Linked DNA regions of Homo sapiens: region 1 is linked to region 2. The links are contacts of gene promoters, found by promoter capture Hi-C in human tissues and cell types (Jung and others, 2019). All regions are on one chromosome and are shown on one strand. The core of a region is centred on a gene start or on the middle of the fragment in contact, and the rest is flanking DNA. Distances in the headings are between cores, read along the strand shown.

Region 1 (5,208 bases), core at 2,343-4,842, 270 kb before region 2:
GAAGCTCCTGTGTTGCACTGGATGATGTTCATTCCATGTCAGTTTCTGGCCCCGATATGAGTAGGGGGAGCGCAGAGTACGGTGACCCCAACTGCTTTTTGTCCTGGGTTGGTACATTGGTGAGGGACTCTGGCTAAGGCTCTTCATTTCCCCTGGAGCAGGGGCAGAAGTGAGGAGGGGAGGGTCGGAGTCTCTGGAGGCTTTTGCCGTCCTGCTGGGTCTTTTAGTTGCTACTTTGAGTCAGGTGTGATGAATCTTGGGACCAAGTCGGTGGGGCAGGATGTCTGGTCAGGAGGGCTCTGAGGATCTGGCTATGGGGCTGGTACCAGGAGTTCCCTGTCATGGGGGTGGCATGTCTCGGACAGAGGCAAAGGACAAGGGTGGGTTGGCTCTTGTGGGAGCCTCTCCAGGGATGAGTCATGGAGGGAGGAGCAGCCTGGCTTCTGACAGCATCCCAGACTCCCTGGGCCAGGTGTGTGGCTCCTGTCCCCCTGACGAGTCCCTCCCTCCATCAGTGCCATCTCCCTCTTCTACGAGCTCTCGGAGAATGACTTGAACTTCATCAAGCAGAGCAAGGACGGTGCCGGCTTCCTCATCAACCTCATTGACTCCCCCGGGCATGTCGACTTCTCCTCGGAGGTGACTGCTGCCCTCCGAGTCACCGATGGCGCATTGGTGGTGGTGGACTGCGTGTCAGGTAAGCAGTGGGTCCCCCTGAGGCACGGCCTGGAACCGGGGGCCATCCTTGCTTGAGGATGACAGCGCCGCCCTGTCCCCCGTGTCCCCAGGCGTGTGCGTGCAGACGGAGACAGTGCTGCGGCAGGCCATTGCCGAGCGCATCAAGCCTGTGCTGATGATGAACAAGATGGACCGCGCCCTGCTGGAGCTGCAGCTGGAGCCCGAGGAGCTCTACCAGACTTTCCAGCGCATCGTGGAGAACGTGAACGTCATCATCTCCACCTACGGCGAGGGCGAGAGCGGCCCCATGGGCAACATCATGGTACGGCCCTCCCTAGCTGGGTGGTGGGCTTGCCGCAGCGGGATCTGCAGGAGCCGGTGGGGAGTGGAGTTGAGCTGAGGGGGACTGGAAGTGTGTTTTTGCCAGGAATGTTGGGTGACAGAGAAGGGGGCTGGAATGTTTTCATCCGACTTGACCCAGCCCTTGATCTTTGGGCAGCTGGAAGAGACGAGCTCAGGGAACGCTGCCCTGGGTGGTGGAGGGGCTGGCCCCCCTATTCGTGATGACTGATCATTTCTTCACTTTGACCAGATGTCTACTGAAGAAAGCCTGCGTCTGAGGCCCATGCCCAAGGCGCCCAGCCCGTAGCTTCAGGCTCTGCGCAGGGGCCCTCACGGCTGCTTCTCGTTTCTCACACTTCCAGATCGATCCTGTCCTCGGTACCGTGGGCTTTGGGTCTGGCCTCCACGGGTGGGCCTTCACCCTGAAGCAGTTTGCCGAGATGTATGTGGCCAAGTTCGCCGCCAAGGGGGAGGGCCAGTTGGGGCCTGCCGAGCGGGCCAAGAAAGTAGAGGACATGATGAAGAAGCTGTGGGGTGACAGGTGAGCCCCGCGGGATATGGTGGGGGATTCCTGACACCTGGGGGTAGTGGCAGCGACGTAGGGGCGTGGTGTGCTATTCACAGCGTGGCTCAAGCCCACCAGGTCTTGCCCAAGCATGTCCCCTTGGCGACCACCCTCCCCAAGTCATCCCCTGGAGACCCTAACTTGATTTGGCTTGGCCTCTCCTTGCCAGGTACTTTGACCCAGCCAACGGCAAGTTCAGCAAGTCAGCCACCAGCCCCGAAGGGAAGAAGCTGCCACGCACCTTCTGCCAGCTGATCCTGGACCCCATCTTCAAGGTGAGTGAGGGCTGCGCCAGGCACCCCGCCGATGCGACTATTGGCCCTCGGCCCTGTGGGCTCCGGCCGGTAGCCTGTCGGCTGACTGGGCCCGTCTCCTTGTGGGGCAGATGCGAGATGGGAGGAGGCACAGCTCCTAACTGAGGTGGAGTCAGGGCTCCTCTCTTAAGATCTGGACTGCATAGCCAGAGCCTTGGGACCTCTCCTGCATTGAGGGGGTTGAATAACTTGTGGCTTTGGCGGTTCAGTGCTTGTAAGTCAGAACTTGGGTCCTTGTCTGAGTCAGAGTGGGCTTTTTCCTCTGCTCCACCACGAGGTTTCCTCCAGCTCCCGATCCGCTCAGCTGGCTGGGCCCGTGGTAGGCAGGCCAGGCCTGCTCCTGCTCCCGTGCTGCGTCCCCCTGCGCTGACCTGAGTCTTCCAAGCAGGAAGCAGTGCCAGGCTTCCTCCTGCTGTTCCCAAATGGGCTTTCTTGTTTCTTGGTGGGGAATGTAGGTGTTTGATGCGATCATGAATTTCAAGAAAGAGGAGACAGCAAAACTGATAGAGAAACTGGACATCAAACTGGACAGCGAGGACAAGGACAAAGAAGGCAAACCCCTGCTGAAGGTGCGGCCTGGGCCCAGCCCTCGGGGTGGAGGGAACACAGGCTGCTGTTTCCGGATGCTCTGACAGCCCAGGCCTGGGGGCTGAAGTCCTCAGCTGGGCAGGGACAGCTGCTGCCCCTTTCGCTTTAGACTCTGGGTGCTGCTGGAGACACATCCCAGCAGCCAGCCCCATCCGGGACAGGTGTGGGTGAGGGCCTTGGCAGGAGTGTGCATGGCCTTTGCCGCCTTCCAGAAGGGACTGTGCTTTGGAGAACGTTAGTCCTGACTTTGGCTTCCTTGGCTTCAAGAGAGGAAGCGTGTACGGGGTGGGGCCATCCTGGGCTCCCCAGGTGTCTCATGCACCGCTCTCTGCCCCCGCAGGCTGTGATGCGCCGCTGGCTGCCTGCCGGAGACGCCTTGTTGCAGATGATCACCATCCACCTGCCCTCCCCTGTGACGGCCCAGAAGTACCGCTGCGAGCTCCTGTACGAGGGGCCCCCGGACGACGAGGCTGCCATGGGTACGTGGTCCCGGTGGCCGGGCCCTGAGATGCAGCCGGATGACTTCCTGTTGCCCAAGGTTGTGGGTTGCAGGGTTCCAGAAGGCTGAGCTGCACTGGAATAAAGCTTGCGGGTTTTCTCTGTCCCTCAGGCATTAAAAGCTGTGACCCCAAAGGCCCTCTTATGATGTATATTTCCAAAATGGTGCCAACCTCCGACAAAGGTCGGTTCTACGCCTTTGGACGAGTCTTCTCGGGGCTGGTCTCCACTGGCCTGAAGGTCAGGATCATGGGGCCCAACTATACCCCTGGGAAGAAGGAGGACCTCTACCTGAAGCCAATCCAGAGGTGAGCAGCTGGGTGATGTGCAGGCCCCTTGGCACTGTTGCGGGCCCTGCCCTGCTCCAAGTCTTGGGCTCCTCAGTCGGGAGCTAGAAGTAAGGAGCATAGAAGGAATATAGGGTGATACTTGTGCCAGCCACAACTTTTGTTCTTAGCCCAGTGAGGGCATTTCTGGAGAAGCTCCAAGCCCCAGGGCACAGCACACCCCTGCTCATCTGTGTCCCTGGGCACAGGTGGGTGGCGGCCGTCGACCCATACCCAGGGAGGAGGGCAGTGATTCTGAAGAGGATGTTTCCTGACAGCCCCGACGCAGCAGTCAGGGCCTTGTGGAAGCCACCAGTCTGCCCTGGGACCTGGCAGGAGGGCCACCAACTCCGGGAGGGACCTGCCCTGGCCCTCCAGGGTCCAGCACAACCATCCCTGCGGCCTGCTGCCGCCTTCTGCTTCTTCCAGAACAATCTTGATGATGGGCCGCTACGTGGAGCCCATCGAGGATGTGCCTTGTGGGAACATTGTGGGCCTCGTGGGCGTGGACCAGTTCCTGGTGAAGACGGGCACCATCACCACCTTCGAGCACGCGCACAACATGCGGGTGATGAAGTTCAGCGTCAGCCCTGTTGTCAGAGTGGCCGTGGAGGCCAAGAACCCGGCTGACCTGCCCAAGCTGGTGGAGGGGCTGAAGCGGCTGGCCAAGTCCGACCCCATGGTGCAGGTGGGCACGGAGTGCACCTGCTGGGAGCAGACACCCTGAGGGGGGACGGCTTGTGTCCTGAGTTGTGGCTGTGTGGGTTGCTGTGGTTGGTGGATTGGGGTGACTGGTCATGAAAGGAGGGGTTCTTGGCTGTGGCTGTAAATGGAGACTCCTGCCCAGGCAGCCACCACCCTCTCCTAGGCTGCTCTGCGCGTGTTCACTGTAGCTTGTGGGACTTAACATTTCTTCAGGAGTTTGTGCTGGTCCCAGTTTCCCAGCACCTTCCCTGAAATCTTGTTCTGGCGGGGTCCCTAGCTAAAGGGAAGCTGGGAGCCTGGTCCCGCCTGTTCCGAGCCGCCTACCCCTTTGGTGCTGACCCGCATCCCTTTCAGTGCATCATCGAGGAGTCGGGAGAGCATATCATCGCGGGCGCCGGCGAGCTGCACCTGGAGATCTGCCTGAAGGACCTGGAGGAGGACCACGCCTGCATCCCCATCAAGGTGAGGCGCCAGTGACCAGCCTTCCCCACGCCCCACCCCGGACACCTGCCCTCTGCTTTAAAGCTGAGCTGAGCTAGGCTCTGCAGACGCCTAGACTTGATCTCGGTCTTGGTCTCAGCTTCTTAAGTTCCTCAAGTTTCTTCTTTGCAGTCTTCCACAGGCATGTGGGGCTGTTTTTGTTGTTGTTGTTGTTTTTTTTGAGATAGTCTCGCTGTGTCATCCAGGCTGGAGTGCAGTGGCGTGATCTTGGCTCGCTAGAACCTCCACCTCCCGGGTTCAAGCGATTCTCTTGCCTCACTCAGCTTCCTGAGTAACTGGGACTACAGGCGCGTGCTACCACGCCCGGCTAATTTTTTTTTGTATTTTTAGTAGAGGCGGGGTTTCACTGTGTTAGTAAGTCAAGATGGTCTCGATCTCCTGACCTCGTGATCCCCCTGCCTCGGCCTCCCAAAGTGCTGGGATTACAGGTGTGAGCCACCATGCCTGGCCCAGGGCTATTTTTTTTTTTTTTTTTTTTTTTTTTTTGAGACAAGAGTCTTGCTCTGTTGCTTAGGCTGGAGTGCAATGGCGTGATCTTGGCTCACTGCAAGCTCTGCTTCCCAGGTTCACGCCATTCTCCTGCCTCAGCCTCCTGTAGCTGGGACTTCAGGCGCCTGCCATCATGCCCGGCTAATTTTTTGCATTTTTAGTAGAGACGGGGTTTCACCGTGTTAGCCAGGATGGTCTGGAT
Region 2 (5,625 bases), core at 2,374-4,873:
CACAGGCAATCAAGAATGCTGAGGCCGGGTCGGTGGCTCTCGCTTGAAATCCCAGCACTTTGAGTGGCTGAGGCTGGCAGATCACTTGAGCCCAGAAGCTCGAGACCAGGCCGGCCAACACAGCAAAACCCCATTTCTATTTTCAATTTTTAAAAAAAAGAAAGAAAGGAAACAAATTAATTCCCCTCTGTATAGGCTATAAAGTCTTACCGGTTCCCATATTAATTAATGAATTAAGCAGACACATAAAGCACCTTTTTTTTTTTTTTTGTACTTTTAGTAGAGACAGGGTTTCACCATGTTAGCCAGGCTGGTCTTGAACTCCTGACCTCGTGATCCACCCGTCTCGGCCTCCCAAAGTGCTGGGATTACAGGCGTGAGCCACCGCATCCGGCCTCATTTTGTATTTGTATGAGAGTAATGATTTTACTATTTTGGGAAAAAATATCCTTTAATATCATAAAGCCAAATGTCTTCAGGCCAGCATTTAAAGCTCTCCCTTCATTTTGGCCGGACGCGGTGGCTCACGCCTGTAATCCCAGCACTTTGGGAGGCCGAGGCGAGCGAATCACCTGAGATCAGGAGTTCGAGACCAGCCTGACCAATACGGTGAAACCCTGTCTCTACTAAAAATACAAAAATTAGCTGGGCGTGGTGGTGGGCGCCTGTAATCCCAGCTACTTGGGAGGCTGAGACAGGAGAATCGCTTTGAACCCAGGAGGTGGAGGTTGCAGCGAGCGGAGATCGTTCCACTGCACTCCAGCCTGGGCAACAGAGCGAGACTCCATCTCAAAAAAAAATAAAATAAGGCCGGGCATGGTGGCTCACGCCTGTAATCCCAGCACTTTGGGAGGCTGAGGTGGGCGGATCACAAGGTCAGGAGAGACCATCTTGGCTACCACGGTGAAACCCCGTCTGTACTAAAAATACAAAAAATTAGCCGGGTGTGGTGGCGGGCGCCTGTAGTCCCAGCTACTCGGGAGGCTGAGGCAGGAGTATGGCGTGAACCCGGGAGGCGGAGCTTGCAGTGAGCCGAGATCGCGCCACCGCACTCCAGCCTGGGCGACAGAGCGAGACTCCGTTTCAAAAAAATATAAAAAGTAAAATAAAGTTACAAAGCGCCTCTCACGCATGTTACCCTCTGTGCAGCCATTGGCTCCATTACTGCGCTCTTGTTTCATGTCTGTCTTTCCCCACCAAAATATGCGCCCCACGAGAGCAGGAAGCTTGGCCTGCCTTGCTCACTGCTGAATCTCCAAGGCCTGGTGACCCCACACTCGCGCATACAGTAAGTGCACAATAAATGCCCGTTCGCTCCCTGGGCGACCCCTCCCCCCAGCCTAGGCTTCCGCTAACCTCAATCCATTCCAAAGGGTGTCAGGTTCCACCCTGAGCAAACACAGCTCCCCTGGCCCCTGGCCAGCCCTAAAGAGGAAGAACAAGTACCCATACTCCCTGCCCTGGACTTTCCCCGGGACTCAGGGCCACGAGGAAGCACCAAGCCAGGGGGCAGGACTTTCTCGAGATGCTGAGCCTGAGGCATCAGCTGGGGGCAGGGCCAGCCTCCAGAGCACCACCCCCGCCACCAGCTCCCTGTCCTCTGCGTCTTGACTCTTGGCCGCCTGACATTTCTACTTGGCTGTGCGGCCCGGGGTAAGCGGCTGTCCTTCTCTGAGCCAGGGTTCATCCTCTACAAACCAGGAAGCTGATGAGACCAGACTCCGATTCGGACCGGGATAGCTCGTCTTGACCCCAGAATGACCGAGAATCTGTTACCCGCTTTATTACATCCGGCACTCAACAGCCCTGTGCCTTGGTGACTCCATATCCCCCCACCCCTTTTTTTTTTTTTTTTTTTGAGACAGAGTCTCACTCTGTTGTCCAGGCTGGAGTGCAGTGGCACAATCTCGGCTCACTGCAACCTCCACCTCCTGGGTTCAAGCAATTCTCCTGCCTCAGCCTCCGGAGTAGCTGGGATTACAAGTGCTTGCCACCATATTCGGCTCATTTTTTGTATTTTTAGTAGAGACAGGGTTCCACCATGTTGGCCAGGCTGGTCTCGAACTCCTGACCTTGTGATCCACTCGCCTCGACCTCCCAAAGTGCTGGGATTACAGGCGTGAGCCACCGCGCCCGGCCCTCAATATCCCCATTTTACAGAGCAGGAAACAGAGGCCCGGAGAGAAGGGAGGTGTGGAAGCCAGATCTAACTGAGTCCACGGGTTTGCTCTCAAAACCCAGGCAAGGTGGGATCCATGTCGCCCACCCCCACGGACTCCCGAATCTCAAGCAAGCCTGCTCCCTGGGAGCTCTGCAGCCACACAGCCACAAGGTGACCCCAAATGCCGGGCCGCTCTGTCCCCCACTATGCGATCATCCATGCCTCCTCGGCCCCGGGGGACCCTCTTGGTTCTGGAGAGAGACTTGAGATGCAATCGGACACTTGGCTCACGAGGAAGCTCCCTTGGTCTTCCCATTTGGGAGCAAATGACCCAGAAAAACACTTTTGCTGCCGACCCCTCCCCTCTCTGGCTCTGAGCGCTCCTTCCTCCTTCCCCTCTGCCCCATCCCACAGAGATTTTGCTCGGAGGAGTAAAGATTAGAAAAAGAAGTCTGGGCGCAGTGGCTTGCGCCTGTAATCCCAGCACTTTGGGAGGCCGAGGGGGTTGGATCACCTGAGGTCAGGAGTTCGAGACCAGCCTGGCCAACATGGTGAAACCCCATCTCTACTAAAAATACAAAAATTAGCTGGGCATAGTGGTGGGCGCTTGTAATCCCAGCTACTCGGGAGGCAGAGGTGGAGGCAGAGGTTGCAGTGAGCCAAGATCGCACCACTGCACTCCAGCCTGGGCAACAAGAGCAAAACTCCGTCTCAAAAAAAAAATTAGCAAAAGAAAGGCCACCCCAATCCCTCCCTGCAAAGCTCCTGGAGGTTCCAGCGGTGAGAACAGGGTGAGGGGTTGGGGGGCGGGAGACGCAGTTGTTTCAAAACTTGGGAGCCTTTTAAGAAGTTCCAGGAGGCTCAGAGATGAGTGAGGTCGCAGCCTTTCCCACCTGTCACCTCCTAGCCTCGGGCTGCAGGAGGTAAACCCAGGCTCCGTCTGGACTGATATCCCCTCCCCTCCTCAGTTAGGGGGATCAGAGACCAACCTGTGCCCCTTTGCCGCCTCCCCGGTCCCTGCGCCACCTAGGTAACAATGACCCTTTTAAGTTTCCAGCTCAGCGTCCTGGGCAGGCCGCCAGGTGCAGTAACTGCCGGTCAGATAATCCCTACGAAACTATGTCAGATGCCCACGCAGGAGTGTCAGTTTCCTGCTTTCCGAGGAGCCGGGGAGACAGCTCGTGGTGGGGGAGGTTGGGGGGGAGTCTAAGGACCCTCAGCTGGGGAAGGCCAGCTCAGACAATGCACACTGGGTGGAAAAGCACAGTGGGGCGGGGGACTTACCTGTCTAGGAGGCTGGGTGGCCTCTGGGCAGGCAGCAGGTGCCAGGGCCCGGGTGCCTGCCTGGCACGGGTGGTGGGGAGGGAACCCGAGGCTTGTAGCTCTGGCCTCCCCACCTGTTTGACCAACTTTTCCTCTCTTGTGGTGGCAACAGGGAGGCAGGTCCCCTGCCAGTGGAACTGACGACCACAGACACAGGGAGACGGACCAGGGTGAGGGGCGGGCCAGCAGGAGGACTGGGTGTGTGGCTCTGTCGCAAGGTGCCCTCACGTGGGAGCAACTGGCCTTAACCCCTGCTTGCCCAGAGGTGAGCTTGCTCCTGCCTGTGCCCTCACCGCCGAGGCCCTGGTATCAAGCGTCCGCACATGGTAGGTGCTTAGGAAACCCTCGTTGGCTACATTCAGACATGAATGGACCGCACTCCCGGAGTCCCCCTCCCTCCTGCTTCTTGCATCTGGAGCTGCCCAGTCTCTGTGCTTGCTGAGCCTCCTGCCAGGCACGCCGGCCCATCAGGCTGTGGCTTGGCGCACTCCCTTCCCCACGCAGATCTGTGCGCAGTCTGCCTCTCTGCTACGAAGTGACTGGGTTCCTACGTACAGAAGCTTCTGCCACTTCCCCGCTGTGTGGCTTTGGGCAAATTACAGGGGCTTCTTGCTGTCCTCATCTAAAAAACAAGAAAGGGTCAGGTGTGGTGGCTCACACCTGTAATTCCAGCACTTTGGGAGGCCGAGGTGGGAGGATCACTTGAGCCTGGGAATTTGAGACCAGCCTGGGTAACACGGTGAAACCCATCTCTAGAAAAATTTTTATATATCTTTTGTTTGTTGTTTGTTTTGAGATGGAGTCTCCCTCTGTCACCCAGGCTGGAGTGCAGTGGCGCGATCTCGGCTCACTGCAACCTCCGCCTCCTGGGTTCAAGTGATTCTTCTGCCTCAGCCTCCCAAGTAGCTGGGATTACAGGCGTGCACCACCACGCCCAGCTAATTTTTTTTTTTTTTTTCAGTAGAGACGGGGTTTTCCTATGTTGGCCAGGCTGGTCTCAAACTCCTGACCTCAAGTGATCTGCCCGCCTCGGCCTCCCAAAGTGTTGGGATTACAGGCGTGAGCCACCGAGCCTGGCCTAGAAAAGTTTTTTTGTTGTTGCTGCTGGCTGTTGTTGGTTTTGTTTTGTTTTTTGTTTTTATTTTATTTTTTTTTTATTTTTTTGAGACAGAGTCTTGCTATGTTGCCCAGGCTGGAGTGCAATGGCTTGATCTCGGCCCACTGCAACCTTTGCCTCCCGGTTTCAAGTGATTCTCCTGCCTCAGCCTCCCGAGTAGCTGGGATTGCATTACAGGCACCAGCCATCATGCCCAGCTAATTTTTGTATTTTTGTAGAGACGGAGTTTCACCATATTGGCCAAGCTGGTCTTGAACTCCTGGCCTCAGGTGATCCGCCTGCCTTGGCCTCTCAAAGTGCTGAGATTACAGGCGTGAGCCACCACGCCCAGCCCAGAAAACTTTTTTAAAAATTAGCCAGATGTGGTGGTACACACCTGTAGTCCCAGAAACTCAGGAGGCTGAGGTGGGAGGATCAATTGACCCTGGGAGGTTGAGGCTGCAGAGAGCTATGACTGTGCCACTGCACTCCAACCTGGGTGACAGAGCAAGATCCTATCTCAATAAAATAAAATTAACCAGGAAGGGTTGGGCATGATGGCTCACACCTATAATCTCAGTACTTTGGAGGCCAAGGTGGCAGGATCACTTGAGGCCAGGAATTCGAGACCAGTCTGGGCAACATAGTGAGACACCCCCCCATCTTTACCAGTACATTAAAATTAAAATTTAAAAAATTAAGTCTGGGCTCAATGGCTCACCCCTGTAATCCCAGCACTTTGGGAGGTTGAGGTGGGAGAATTGCTTGAGTTAGGAGTTCGAGACCAGCCTGGCCAACATGGTGAAACCCCATCTCTACTAAAAATACAAAAATTAGCCGGGCAAGGTGGCATGCGTCTGTAATCCCAGCTACTCAGGAGGCTGAGACGGGAGAATCGCTTGAGCCCCAGAGGCAGAGGTTGCAGTGAGCCGAGATCGCGCCACTGCACTCCAGCTTGGGAGACAGAGCAAGACGCTGGCTGAAAAATAAATAAATAAATATTAAAATGCCACCTCACAGAGGTCATGGACTTTGTCGTGCTCAT

The links. The method cuts DNA at HindIII sites, captures the fragments that hold promoters and counts their contacts. A contact is called where the count stands out against the background at its distance.
Region 1: a contact is called between a fragment that was not itself captured here and the fragment with the promoter of TJP3 in region 2, in 1 of the 25 tissues and cell types used here (dorsolateral prefrontal cortex).

Annotation. Positions count from the first base shown.
Region 1 is chr19:3,978,599-3,983,806 of GRCh38, reverse strand. It overlaps EEF2 (eukaryotic translation elongation factor 2), which reads left to right. Exons shown (of 15, transcript NM_001961.4): 3 at 516-697; 4 at 789-1,000; 5 at 1,383-1,561; 6 at 1,755-1,860; 7 at 2,355-2,468; 8 at 2,828-2,966; 9 at 3,098-3,293; 10 at 3,741-3,999; 11 at 4,371-4,478. SNORD37 (small nucleolar RNA, C/D box 37) reads left to right here and starts at 1,235; the gene lies at 1,235-1,300. RefSeq lists an enhancer at 1,483-2,334. The HindIII fragment of the contact is 5,039 bases long and covers 1,073-5,208 here.
Region 2 is chr19:3,706,382-3,712,006 of GRCh38, reverse strand. It overlaps TJP3 (tight junction protein 3), which reads right to left and starts at 3,623. Exons shown (of 21, transcript NM_001267560.2): 1 at 3,446-3,623. RefSeq lists enhancers at 1,472-2,017, 2,853-3,514, 3,515-4,178. The HindIII fragment of the contact is 5,666 bases long and covers 2,636-5,625 here.